Linked DNA regions of Homo sapiens: all the other regions are linked to region 1. The links are contacts of gene promoters, found by promoter capture Hi-C in human tissues and cell types (Jung and others, 2019). All regions are on one chromosome and are shown on one strand. The core of a region is centred on a gene start or on the middle of the fragment in contact, and the rest is flanking DNA. Distances in the headings are between cores, read along the strand shown.

The links. Contacts are between HindIII fragments. The study calls those that stand out against the background at their distance.
Region 2: a contact is called between a fragment that was not itself captured here and the fragment with the promoter of FLT1 in region 1, in 1 of the 25 tissues and cell types used here (IMR-90 fibroblasts).
Region 3: a contact is called between a fragment that was not itself captured here and the fragment with the promoter of FLT1 in region 1, in 1 of the 25 tissues and cell types used here (psoas muscle).

Annotation. Positions count from the first base shown.
Region 1 is chr13:28,492,839-28,496,758 of GRCh38, reverse strand. It overlaps FLT1 (fms related receptor tyrosine kinase 1), which reads left to right and starts at 1,631. Exons shown (of 30, transcript NM_002019.4): 1 at 1,631-1,979. The coding sequence starts at 1,916. RefSeq lists silencers at 1,726-1,775, 1,896-2,015, 2,096-2,145. The HindIII fragment of the contact is 17,639 bases long and covers 1-3,920 here.
Region 2 is chr13:28,547,722-28,551,641 of GRCh38, reverse strand. No RefSeq gene overlaps it. Among named protein-coding and RNA genes, the nearest start is that of FLT1, 55 kb to the right of the region's middle. The HindIII fragment of the contact is 5,915 bases long and covers 1-3,920 here.
Region 3 is chr13:28,527,028-28,530,947 of GRCh38, reverse strand. No RefSeq gene overlaps it. Among named protein-coding and RNA genes, the nearest start is that of FLT1, 34 kb to the right of the region's middle. The HindIII fragment of the contact is 3,033 bases long and covers 648-3,680 here.

The DNA.
Region 1 (3,920 bases), core at 382-2,881:
ATGCTGCAGAAGGACAATGCTGACAGCTTCTCCTTGAAAGAGGGTGTGGGAGTGACAAGCAGCTCTCAGGTGAGACCAACAGACACTGTGGCTCCGCACGTATGTCCCAGGCTGTGTTCTGGGCTGGGGGACCAGCAAGGAGAAGGATCAGCTGTCCGCTTCCAGCTGTTCTGAGGGATGATGCTGTGGGTTTTAGAGGAGGCAGGGGTGCGGGAGGCAGAGAAAGGCGCCAGGAAGAGTGGTGAGGAGAACTGGAAAAACAGAAAGCGCTGGTGAAGCCAGCAGGCAAGCAATGACTCCGGCAGTCTTCCTTGCCTCTGAAGCAGAAGGGATCCAGGGACAGTTAGTGGCTCAGGTCCTGCGGCTCCAGGTGCCCAGACGTGCATTTCCTGTGTGGAGTGGCCGGGGCCTCTCCTTGGTGTGCAGCCCAGAAATGTGGCAACTTTGGGTTACCCAACCTTCCTAGGCGGGGAGGTAGTCCAGTCCTTCAGGAAGAGTCTCTGGCTCCGTTCAAGAGCCATCACAGTCCCTTGTATTACATCCCTCTGACGGGTTCCAATAGGACTATTTTTCAAATCTGCGGTATTTACAGAGACAAGACTGGGCTGCTCCGTGCAGCCAGGACGACTTCAGCCTTTGAGGTAATGGAGACATAATTGAGGAACAACGTGGAATTAGTGTCATAGCAAATGATCTAGGGCCTCAAGTTAATTTCAGCCGGTTGTGGTCAGAGTCACTCATCTTGAGTAGCAAGCTGCCACCAGAAAGATTTCTTTTTCGAGCATTTAGGGAATAAAGTTCAAGTGCCCTGCGCTTCCAAGTTGCAGGAGCAGTTTCACGCCTCAGCTTTTTAAAGGTATCATAATGTTATTCCTTGTTTTGCTTCTAGGAAGCAGAAGACTGAGGAAATGACTTGGGCGGGTGCATCAATGCGGCCGAAAAAGACACGGACACGCTCCCCTGGGACCTGAGCTGGTTCGCAGTCTTCCCAAAGGTGCCAAGCAAGCGTCAGTTCCCCTCAGGCGCTCCAGGTTCAGTGCCTTGTGCCGAGGGTCTCCGGTGCCTTCCTAGACTTCTCGGGACAGTCTGAAGGGGTCAGGAGCGGCGGGACAGCGCGGGAAGAGCAGGCAAGGGGAGACAGCCGGACTGCGCCTCAGTCCTCCGTGCCAAGAACACCGTCGCGGAGGCGCGGCCAGCTTCCCTTGGATCGGACTTTCCGCCCCTAGGGCCAGGCGGCGGAGCTTCAGCCTTGTCCCTTCCCCAGTTTCGGGCGGCCCCCAGAGCTGAGTAAGCCGGGTGGAGGGAGTCTGCAAGGATTTCCTGAGCGCGATGGGCAGGAGGAGGGGCAAGGGCAAGAGGGCGCGGAGCAAAGACCCTGAACCTGCCGGGGCCGCGCTCCCGGGCCCGCGTCGCCAGCACCTCCCCACGCGCGCTCGGCCCCGGGCCACCCGCCCTCGTCGGCCCCCGCCCCTCTCCGTAGCCGCAGGGAAGCGAGCCTGGGAGGAAGAAGAGGGTAGGTGGGGAGGCGGATGAGGGGTGGGGGACCCCTTGACGTCACCAGAAGGAGGTGCCGGGGTAGGAAGTGGGCTGGGGAAAGGTTATAAATCGCCCCCGCCCTCGGCTGCTCTTCATCGAGGTCCGCGGGAGGCTCGGAGCGCGCCAGGCGGACACTCCTCTCGGCTCCTCCCCGGCAGCGGCGGCGGCTCGGAGCGGGCTCCGGGGCTCGGGTGCAGCGGCCAGCGGGCGCCTGGCGGCGAGGATTACCCGGGGAAGTGGTTGTCTCCTGGCTGGAGCCGCGAGACGGGCGCTCAGGGCGCGGGGCCGGCGGCGGCGAACGAGAGGACGGACTCTGGCGGCCGGGTCGTTGGCCGCGGGGAGCGCGGGCACCGGGCGAGCAGGCCGCGTCGCGCTCACCATGGTCAGCTACTGGGACACCGGGGTCCTGCTGTGCGCGCTGCTCAGCTGTCTGCTTCTCACAGGTGAGGCGCGGCTGGGGGCCGGGGCCTGAGGCGGGCTGCGATGGGGCGGCCGGAGGGCAGAGCCTCCGAGGCCAGGGCGGGGTGCACGCGGGGAGACGAGGCTGTAGCCCGGAGAAGCTGGCTACGGCGAGAACCTGGGACACTAGTTGCAGCGGGCACGCTTGGGGCCGCTGCGCCCTTTCTCCGAGGGAGCGCCTCGAGGAGTGGCTGGCCTGGACCCGCGAGCATCAGCGCTCAGACCGGGTCCGCGCTGGGGCTGTCCGTTTGCGACAGGATCGCTGATCCCTTATCCAGCTGTCGGGTTGGGGTCTCACTGCCGAGGCCCTGGGCACTAGGAGCAGCACGCACCGGGACCTGCCTGGCACCCAGAGCCCATTCCCAGAGGACCTGGGGCAGGTACGCAGGGTCCCCCGGAGCCGGGAGCAGAGGCTCCTGAAAGCCTGCCAGGCTGCCCGGGGCTGGGCTGAGGCCGGGACTTTGGTGATATTGGGCACTGGCCGCGACCTCGCGTCACGAGAGTGTAGGAGGGGAGCCGATTTGGAGGGGACTCGTGCCTGCGGGGGAGCAGGAGGATCTCAGGAGAGGGCCAGCGCCGGCATCCCATGACCCGCTTGAGTCCCCAAGCCGGACTGTCCCGGGGAACGCTCGGCGAGCGCCCGCTCCTCCCCGCCGCTCTCGGACCGCGGGGCCCCAGTGCGCTGCGCTCAGCCACCCGGGTGGGGCCTCTGCCGGGAGCAGGCGTGGTGCGCGGTCCAGTCCGTGTCGCGGACATCAGTGACCCTGACCCACAAGGGCAGCCCAGGGCCCAAATACCGTTAACTTACTGACTTACAAGCCTAGCCTTTAAAATCCGAGCGAAGAGAGGGCGGGCGATTTTGACCAAACGATGTGGTTTGAGGAATCGATGAGGTCCGCCCGCCACCTAAGTCAGCCTTCGCTGGGCGTTTGGGAGACGGGCGGTGGAACAGTCAGGGGCCGGGGGTTTTACCAGCAGTTAGACCGCCGCCATTGAGGGGTCAAAGCCCCGAGGAACTTGAGGGTTCGGACTCGCAGTCTCTGCTCAGTGGGGCTGAGTGGCGGAGATTTGTGCCTCGTTCCCCTGGGCGCAGAGAGCCAGATTTCGGAGCGCCTTTCTTTTAAGCATCGTGGAGAAAAGGTAAAATATGAAATAAAATATAGTAATATAAAATAAGTCATTGCAATGATTCCCGGGAAGAAAAGTCAATAGGATGGAGCGTAGTACAACAACAACAACAACAAAAAGCTTGTTAAACCCAAAAAGCAGTAATAATTAAATATTCTTTCTCAGTGGGAAGACTAACTAGACCGTCAGTTTCCAAGTAACAAGTAATAGTTCCAATTAGATTGGAGAAACTACTAAACCCGGAGACAGGGCGAAGTGGTAACTTCTGAGAACTCACTGTAGGTTGGGAAAGGTGCTAACATAACTATATTAAATAAAATGTTGTATTTTCTATTTCACAAATACATTTTTTGTTTTGAAAAGTCACTTGTATTAAAATATAATTGCTTAGAGAATTTAAATACCTCACTCGACTATTATGTAAAGATAAATCTAGCTAAATTACATGAATCTAAAATTACGGAGGGAAAAGTACGTGATTTATTAGATTTTCTGCTTCACATAATTATATCTTTATTTTGAAAACATGCTGACTTTAGTGAAGCATCGTTTTCTTTGTAATTGGAAGCATCTTAGATCAGTGGAAACTTTACAGAAATGTGAGTGGGATCCTCTTGTGATTTTTCTTAGATTATAATTTACTTAAATGGGGCAGCAGTTTTGCAACTCTGAATTTCTTTTTTTTTTTTATTTGCACTTTTTTGGGAAGAAAGGACTAACATTGGCAAGCTGAGAACCTCTTTACCTAACAGTTAACAGAACACTCTGTTAGTTCATGTTAGCTCAGTCGGCATCAT
Region 2 (3,920 bases), core at 928-3,427, 54 kb before region 1:
TTTCTGGAGGCTGGGTTCTAAAGATGAAGACTTCTAAGTTATAAAATTGAGCATTTGAAATCCTACGTCTTCAACATAATGTGATGTTTTTCCTTTGAAATAGGAGTTGCCAACTTTCAGTTGAGTTAAGGCAACAGAACAGACTGCATTCTCATATCTGGTTGACAACTAAGAATCTTCTAAGTTCTACAGAAAAATATTTGTGGTCCATGTATTCCATCTGGGACTTTTTCAAATGACTTATACAAGGAGGGAGAAATACTACTATTAATAAATCAATTACTACTAATACTCCTACATCAATCGAGGAGATAAACTGGACTAGGGAGAATTTTGGGGGGCCTCCCTCATGTTCAGGAGAAAAGTTTGAGTCATTAAAGAAAACACCCTCGCAAATAATATGTTTTGAGTTGACAAGCTGACGACTAAGGGAAAACAAATCCTATAAAAGGAACTCTTTGACACATCACAAAAACCCAGCCAGGAGAAGAGAACCGAAGGGAACACATGAAAGAAATGTGAAGTTAAATTTCGGAAAGACAACCTCTCTGAGACAGGAGTATCCTAGGCCAAGAAATCAAAATTTGTTGCCAGAAAACTGAGCTGGAACTCAGGAGATTCTAAATGAAGGAACTCGGTGATTGGGGGATGCCAGATGATGCTTGTAGATTTTCAGTTCACTGAGGTTAAATCAGGTAATGTCTCATAGCTCCTCAAGCCTGACATCTTGTTGATAATGTTGGAGGCATACTGGTGTGGAATGTGCTGCCTCCAAACAAGGTTGCATGCCTCACATCCATTCTTACCATAATCACTGCCAGAAATCCAGGCCTCTCTGATCACCCAGGATCACACACCATACCGCTGTGTTCATCCCAATGGGACCCAATCCCCACCAACCCTCCATTGACCCCCCAGGAGTCACCCCTCTACAATCAGCAAACCCCTCCAGCTCTACCTCATTCCTTCGGGAGAGCCTAGCTGACCCTGAGAATGTTCCACACTGCAGTCCGACCCATGAGAGACTGTTTCTCTCTCACACATCCCCGCTTGGATCTCAGGACCAGAAACAAATTTGTGTGTTCCTGAGTCACATTACCACTTGCAGACCATGTCTCTCCCTCCCTCACACCACTCACATGCTCACATGTCACCTCTTCCTCCTCCTAATGAATGTCACACACAGACTTCCAGGATTTTTCCCGCTACCCACCCCCCACACACACACACACATACACACACTCATGTACTAAGGGTTTTCACTCCTGGCTGCCTGTCTTCCTTTCCACCCCAACTCTTGCAGCATTCGTGGTCACTTCAGTGTTCAGGGAGATGGCACATCCACTACACTGGCCTCTCCGGCTCTTTACTCAATAGTCTTGACAGCAGCCACCCACAGGCAGGTTACACCCTGCACTGTGTCATTATATTCTCCCCAGTCTCTCAATCTGTTTTAGTCCATTTCATGTTGCTATAAAGGAATACATGAGGCTGGGTAATTTCTTTAAAAAAGGTTTATTTGGCTCACAGTTCTGCAGGCTATACAAGAAGCATGGGACCAGCATTTGCTCCTGGTGAGGCCTCAGGAAGCTTCCAGTCATGACAGAAAACCAGCATGTCACACAGCGAGAAAGGGAGAAAGAAAGAGAAGGAGGTACCAGACTCTTTATTTTATTTTGTTTATTTATTTTTAAATTTTATTTATTTTGAGACAGGGCCTTGCTCTGTCACCCAGGTTGGAGTGCAGTGGCACAATCATAGCTCACTGCAGCCTTGAGCTCCTGGGCTCAAGTGATCCTCCCACCTCAGCCTCTCGAGTAGCTGGGACTACAGGTGCACACCACCATACCAAACTAATTAAAAAAATTTTTTTTTGTAGAGATGAGATCTTGCTGTGTTGTCCAGGCTGGTCTCAAACTCTTGGCCTCAAGCAATCCTGCTTTGATCTCCCAAAGTGTTGGGATTACAAGGCATGAGCCACTGTGCCTGGTCCATGCCAGGCTCTTTACAGCAACCAGCTCTCACTTGAACTAATAGAGCAAGAACTCACTCATTACCTTGGGGACGGCACCAAGCCATTCATGAGAGATCTGCCCTGCCCCCATGACCCAAACACCTCCCATTACGCCCCACTTCCGAGACTGGAGATCAAATTCCAACATGAAATTTGGCAGGGACAAACATCCAAACTATATCAGATCCCATCCCCCTTACCCTCCACACCTTCCTGTTCCTCTCCTACTCCTGTTCACACACCTCCACCATAACCATCCTCCCACTCCATCCAGACCACTTCCAATCACTGTCAGCTGAAGGCCTTTATTTTTGTTTTTTTCACTTACAAAAGGGCAGACATGAAAGGGGCCTCTCCTCTCTTCCCACCCTCAAATCAACAAACCTATTAGCACCTGGCACCTTGTTCCCTCCTGTCTCACCTTCCCTGCTCATGCATTTGCTGTCCTGAAACAATGCTCTCTCTTTCTACTCAGGAGGGCTTTCCAAGGGCTTGCCAGTGTGTTTTAGTGCCCACCTCTCTGAGAAGAGCCCTTCCCCGATGATGTGGTGTGCTGGAGCTGGGTGATAGTGCCTCCCAGGGGCCAATGCTAGATTTTTCAGGAATTTTATGAGCTGTTTGACAACATGTTGGTAGCTTGATGTTAGCCATGGTGAGAGTATTCATATTACCACAAATGGAGGCTTTGACTTTCCAGAGGGTGCATTGCTAAACATTTACCAGCATACCCGTTTTATTCCTCAGCCTCCTACTGCTGCCTATGCCTTTCTCTGCCACCCTGTCACCTCAAAACTAACTGTTGCAAGAGCTGTCAACAATGTTGACTTCCCATCACCTGTGTGCTCATCAAACCCACTCTAACCCAGCTTCTGTCCTCAGACTTCTCCAAACGACTCCTGTCCAAGCCGCTTAACACCTCCATATTGCAAATCCAAATAACCGGCTTTCTGTTTTTATCTTACTTGACCTTTGCACTGGATTTACCTAACTACTTCCTCACTTTCCTCCTGGCTTCCGAAGCTCCACTGCTCTGTCTCCTTCCTCTTTGGCTGTTCTTTTTCAGAACCTGTTGCAGGCTTCTCTCTGCCTCCCCCTGCATGGATGCACAACTCTAAAGGTTGGCTTTCCAGGGCTGGCTCTAGCCTCTCTTCTCCCCTCTATGCTCTCTTCTGGGTGACAGCATCCTTTCTAATGAGGATGCCATTTCTATGCTAAGGATCTCCAAAAGGACACCCAATCCTCTCCAATCCCCCGACTTCTCCATCCAGCTTCCTATAGGACAAATCCACTTGGAGGCATGCTTTGCTTTATTTTTTAAAAATTAATATATCATAGTTGTACAAATTTGGCAGGTACATGTGATATTTTGATACATGTACACAATGTGTGTGATCGAAACAGGCAACTGCCATATCCATCACCTCAAACATTTATTTTTTCTTTGTGTTGGGAACATTACAAATCTCCTCTCACAGCCATTTTGAAATATACAATAAATGGTTGTTAACTCTAATTTTCCTACTGTACTATCAAATGCTAGGACTTATTCCTTTGACCTAACTATATTTTGGTGGCTGCTAGCCAACTTCTCTTCATCCACCCCTTCCCTTCCCTGCCTCTGGTACCCACCATTCTGCTCTCTACCTCCCTGAGGTCCACTTTCTGGCATGGTTTGCTTTAAATGTAAAATGTCCAAAGTGGAGCCCTTGATTCCCTCACCATCTGGCAAACCAGTTCCTCTCTAGCCCCAGCAATCCCATCTCACTCACTGGTGACACCATTCAGCCATCTACGGGAGCCAGAATTGGGGGTACACTGTGATTCCTGCCTCGTTCTTGCCTCCACATCCAATGTCTCGGTAGGGCCTGTCATTTCCACGCCCTGGGTATGCTTGCATCTCAGCTCC
Region 3 (3,920 bases), core at 915-3,414, 34 kb before region 1:
TTCTCCTATTCCACTAAGTACTTCTATTTTGGTATTGGTATCATTCTGCCCTGAATTGCTGCATATAGTGTCCTGGGTGCTCTAGTGGAAGAGCACTAGATTGCAAACTCGGAGAGGCAGGGAAAGGTCTATTTTGTTTCTGCATTTTCTGGGCTTAGAGGCCTGGGCATTTCACATAGTAGGTTCTGTATCGCTATAAATGTATATGAAATATGTAGACATTCTTGCCTCTCCTGGACACCCCTACCACCATATCTTGTTCCCGTTTGCACGCTGGGAACACTATCATCTGACTGTTGAGCATACACACAGAATTTGCATGTATATATGACATGCACACTGTTTTATATGTACCACATGTGTGTACACACAAACATGCTACACACATACAATATGTGTTTAGTAACTGCAATACCACCACCATCCCACGCTCCCCACCCCACCCTCGATGAGAAAGAAAATGGAAGCTATGTGTGAAATCTGTCATAGATACGCTGTCCTTCTCGTTAATCTCTTTTTGCCACAGACAAACTCTTCAAACATTTTGTGTGATTTCAATTTTGGAAAATGTTACTTCCCATCACATTTTAAACCTTCAAGTTTAGAGTTTATCATCATGACTACCAAAAGAGAGAAGGTCGAAGAAGTGCTTTGCGGACTTTCTAAGCTATATATTGGTAGGGCATAACTAGTATTGGAATTAGAGATCAGTTCTTAGCAGTGGCCTCTGACCCTTCAGATTTAAATCTTTGCTTTTTGCCTGACCACCCTCAGCTGTCCTTCCCATCTTCCCCAGCTGCAAGACTTAAGGATCTGTATAACAATATTTAAATATTTAAATCCCCTGGGGAAGCACACTAAAAGGAACCCTCTGGGACTCTTTATAATGTGAAAATCATCCTCTAATTGCTTCACTCCCAGTTGCTTAGTCCTCTGCCCTTTGCCCAACAGAGCTGAGTCAAGCCAGCAGTAAAAGCCAAGGCCACTTAGTGCTTCTTGAACGGATGAATGAATGAATAAATGATCATATTCTATTTTTTGTTTACATGTAATCATGTTATTTATATTTATTTATTTATTGAAATGGAGTTTAGCTCTTGTTGCCCAGGCTGGAGTGCAATGGCACCATCTCTGCTCATCGCAACCTCCACCTTCTGGGTTCAAGCAATTATCCTGCCTCAGCCTCCCCAGTAGCTGGGATTACAGGCATGCGCCACCACACCCGGCTAATTTTATATTTTTAGTACAGATGGGGTTTCTCCATGTTGGTCAGGCTGGTCTCGAACTCCTGACCTCAGGTAATCCGCCCACCTCAGCCTCCCAAAGTGCTGGGATTACAGGCATGAGCAACCGCACCCGGCGTTATTTTATTTATAAGCTTAGGGGAAAAAATTATAGCTCCTGGTCTGTAGAAATAGATTTGGGGAAAACGAAGTGGAACAATCCCTAAATAGTATAAATTGGGCATATCCTAATTGTTTAATACATATCTTTAATAATGAAAAATGTAGTTCACTCCTATGCTTAGCCAAGATGAAGTGAGAGTTAGGGCAGCAGAGTGTATAAGACCCTGTGATATTGTGAGTTCACCTTCTTGGGAGAGTTCTCTCTGTTTTTGCAAAATGCTTGCTGCCCCTGAGAGCTGTGTTGCTGTGGCTTTTACATATAATGTGCTACTTTGATTGGAACCTACTGTAGTTGTTATCTTTTTATATATGTGTCCCAACTAGATTGCGAGCCCCTTAAAGGATCGCCTTATATCTGCAAGGCTTGCACTGTTTTCTGCCCCTAGAAATAGACAAATAAGTGTCTGAGGGTGACGATGGGACTAGCCTGGTCATCCATGTGAAATGAATTCAGAGGTCAAAAGTCATCATGGAGCAAATTAAATGATGTCTAATGCCCTCCAGTGGCAGTTTTCCAATGGCATTCCATGGATGTGCTTCAAGGGATCAGTGGAGGAGAGTCTTCTACTACAGCAATTTTAGATTTGAGGTCCAGCTGCTCTGGACATTTTTGCAAACATCTACCTCTGAAGAATGACAGCAATGGGCAAAGGCAGGTTGCAATCCCAAACCAATGAATAGTGGAGGAAGATATTCAGGAGTGAACTTCCCCTATCATCAACTCTTATTTTTTTTCTGAACATAGTTTATATTCTATGAATGAGAAAGAAAAGAAAACGTTTCAGAGAAGAAATGCTCAGAGTTGGAGGGGAGTGGGGAAAAGGGACTCTTTGCATCTTTTGTTCTCTTCAACAGAAATAGCTGTCTGTCCCCAGCAGCTCCAGATGCCTGTCTCCATCTGTCCACACACCCTACTGGCATTTCCAATTCACTTTATCGCTGCCAGCACAGAGGCAGGTTAGTCCCCACAGTCTTCTCACAAAAAGATTAGCAGAACTTAAACTTAACAAGGCAGAGGCTTATTGAGTTGTGTTTCTTTGATAACCTTCAGCTAGGAGGTCTCCAAGGCTCCTCAGCATCTAGCACCTGAAGAATGGTTTCAGCTCGCCTTCACCTTGCCTTCTGGTGGGCTATTCATGTTGGTTTACCTTGTGTAGGTTACTATGGACCTTTTATTTTCCCACGCATTGCTGAAACTATCAGGAAAGCTGTTCCTTGTCAATAGAGGTCTATATGAAATAAATCAGTTCGAGGACTTAACGACAAACTATCCCTTGCTACTTGAGGTGTCCTCCTCCCTCCCCATTTCCCCGCTCTATTCCTAGACCTCAGATCTGGTCCTGGTTTCCTGCCCAGTGATCTTCTTCTAGGGCCTTTGCCAGGTCCCTTTTTCTAGATCTTTCATCCTGAGGCTGGGGACTGGTTGCTAGCCCCACAGCTGCCTCCTGCCTACTATTACACTTTCCTATGGAATATGCCCACCCAGATTTCTTAGCATGCTGTTCTGCCCACATTGTCGGACATCCTTTTATTCATCTTAGACTCCTTTTCCCATTGCTGATTAATTTCCTGGACTTGAAAAGATTATGATCAACTGTGGACGCCCCTCTGACATGAGCATCGTCGGCAGGGTCGCCTCTCCCGGCCTCTGTTCCGCTCCTTTGCTGGGGCCTTCCTCTTTTTCACTTGCTGCTGCTTTTGCAACGGTCTGACCACTTCCCCCCTGGGACCCAGTGGCAAGCTCAAAAATCTCTCTGAACAAAGGTAGATCTACGTTAAAAAAAAAAAAATCAATAGAGAGTCCTAGTTATGGCACCTTAAAAAAAAGAAACATGTGAATCCTAATGAGGTTTGAAATACCTAGGGATGTTTGCGATGGCCTTGCGGGTTTGTTTGCGATCGCCTTGCAGGTTTGGGTCTGCAAGGCTAGATTCCAGTCAGTTTGTTTCCTCCTGGAATCCTGCTCACAGTTTAAGCAAGCTGCCACATTGGAAGCAGGTGAGCAGTAGTACCTTAGATTTTTCAATGCCTAGATTCTCCCGTAAGTAAAAATCACTGAGTCCAAGACTATAGCATGCCTTTAATAAATTACACTTATAAAAGATGAAGTTCTTCTCATTTATTTATTTATTTATTTATTTATTTTTGAGGCAGGGTCTCACTGTCATTTCCCGGGCTGGAGTGCAGTGTTGTGATCTGGGCTCACTGCAGCCCCAACTTCCTGGGCTCAAGAGATCTGCCCACCTCAGCCTCCTGAGTAGCTGTGACTACAGGCACGCGCCACCCCTCCCGGCTAATTTTTTGTATTTTTAGTAGAGATGAGGTTGCGCCAGGCTGGTCTCGAACTCCTAGGTTCAAGCGATCCACCCACCTCCACCTCCCAAAATGTTGAGATTACAGGCATGAGCCACCACGCTGGGCCAATGATGTTCTTAATATAGAAACTCAATGTAGTAAACAACATTCTTTAAAAATCTTAAACATGAATTTTTTTTTTTTTTTTTAGGCAAGGTC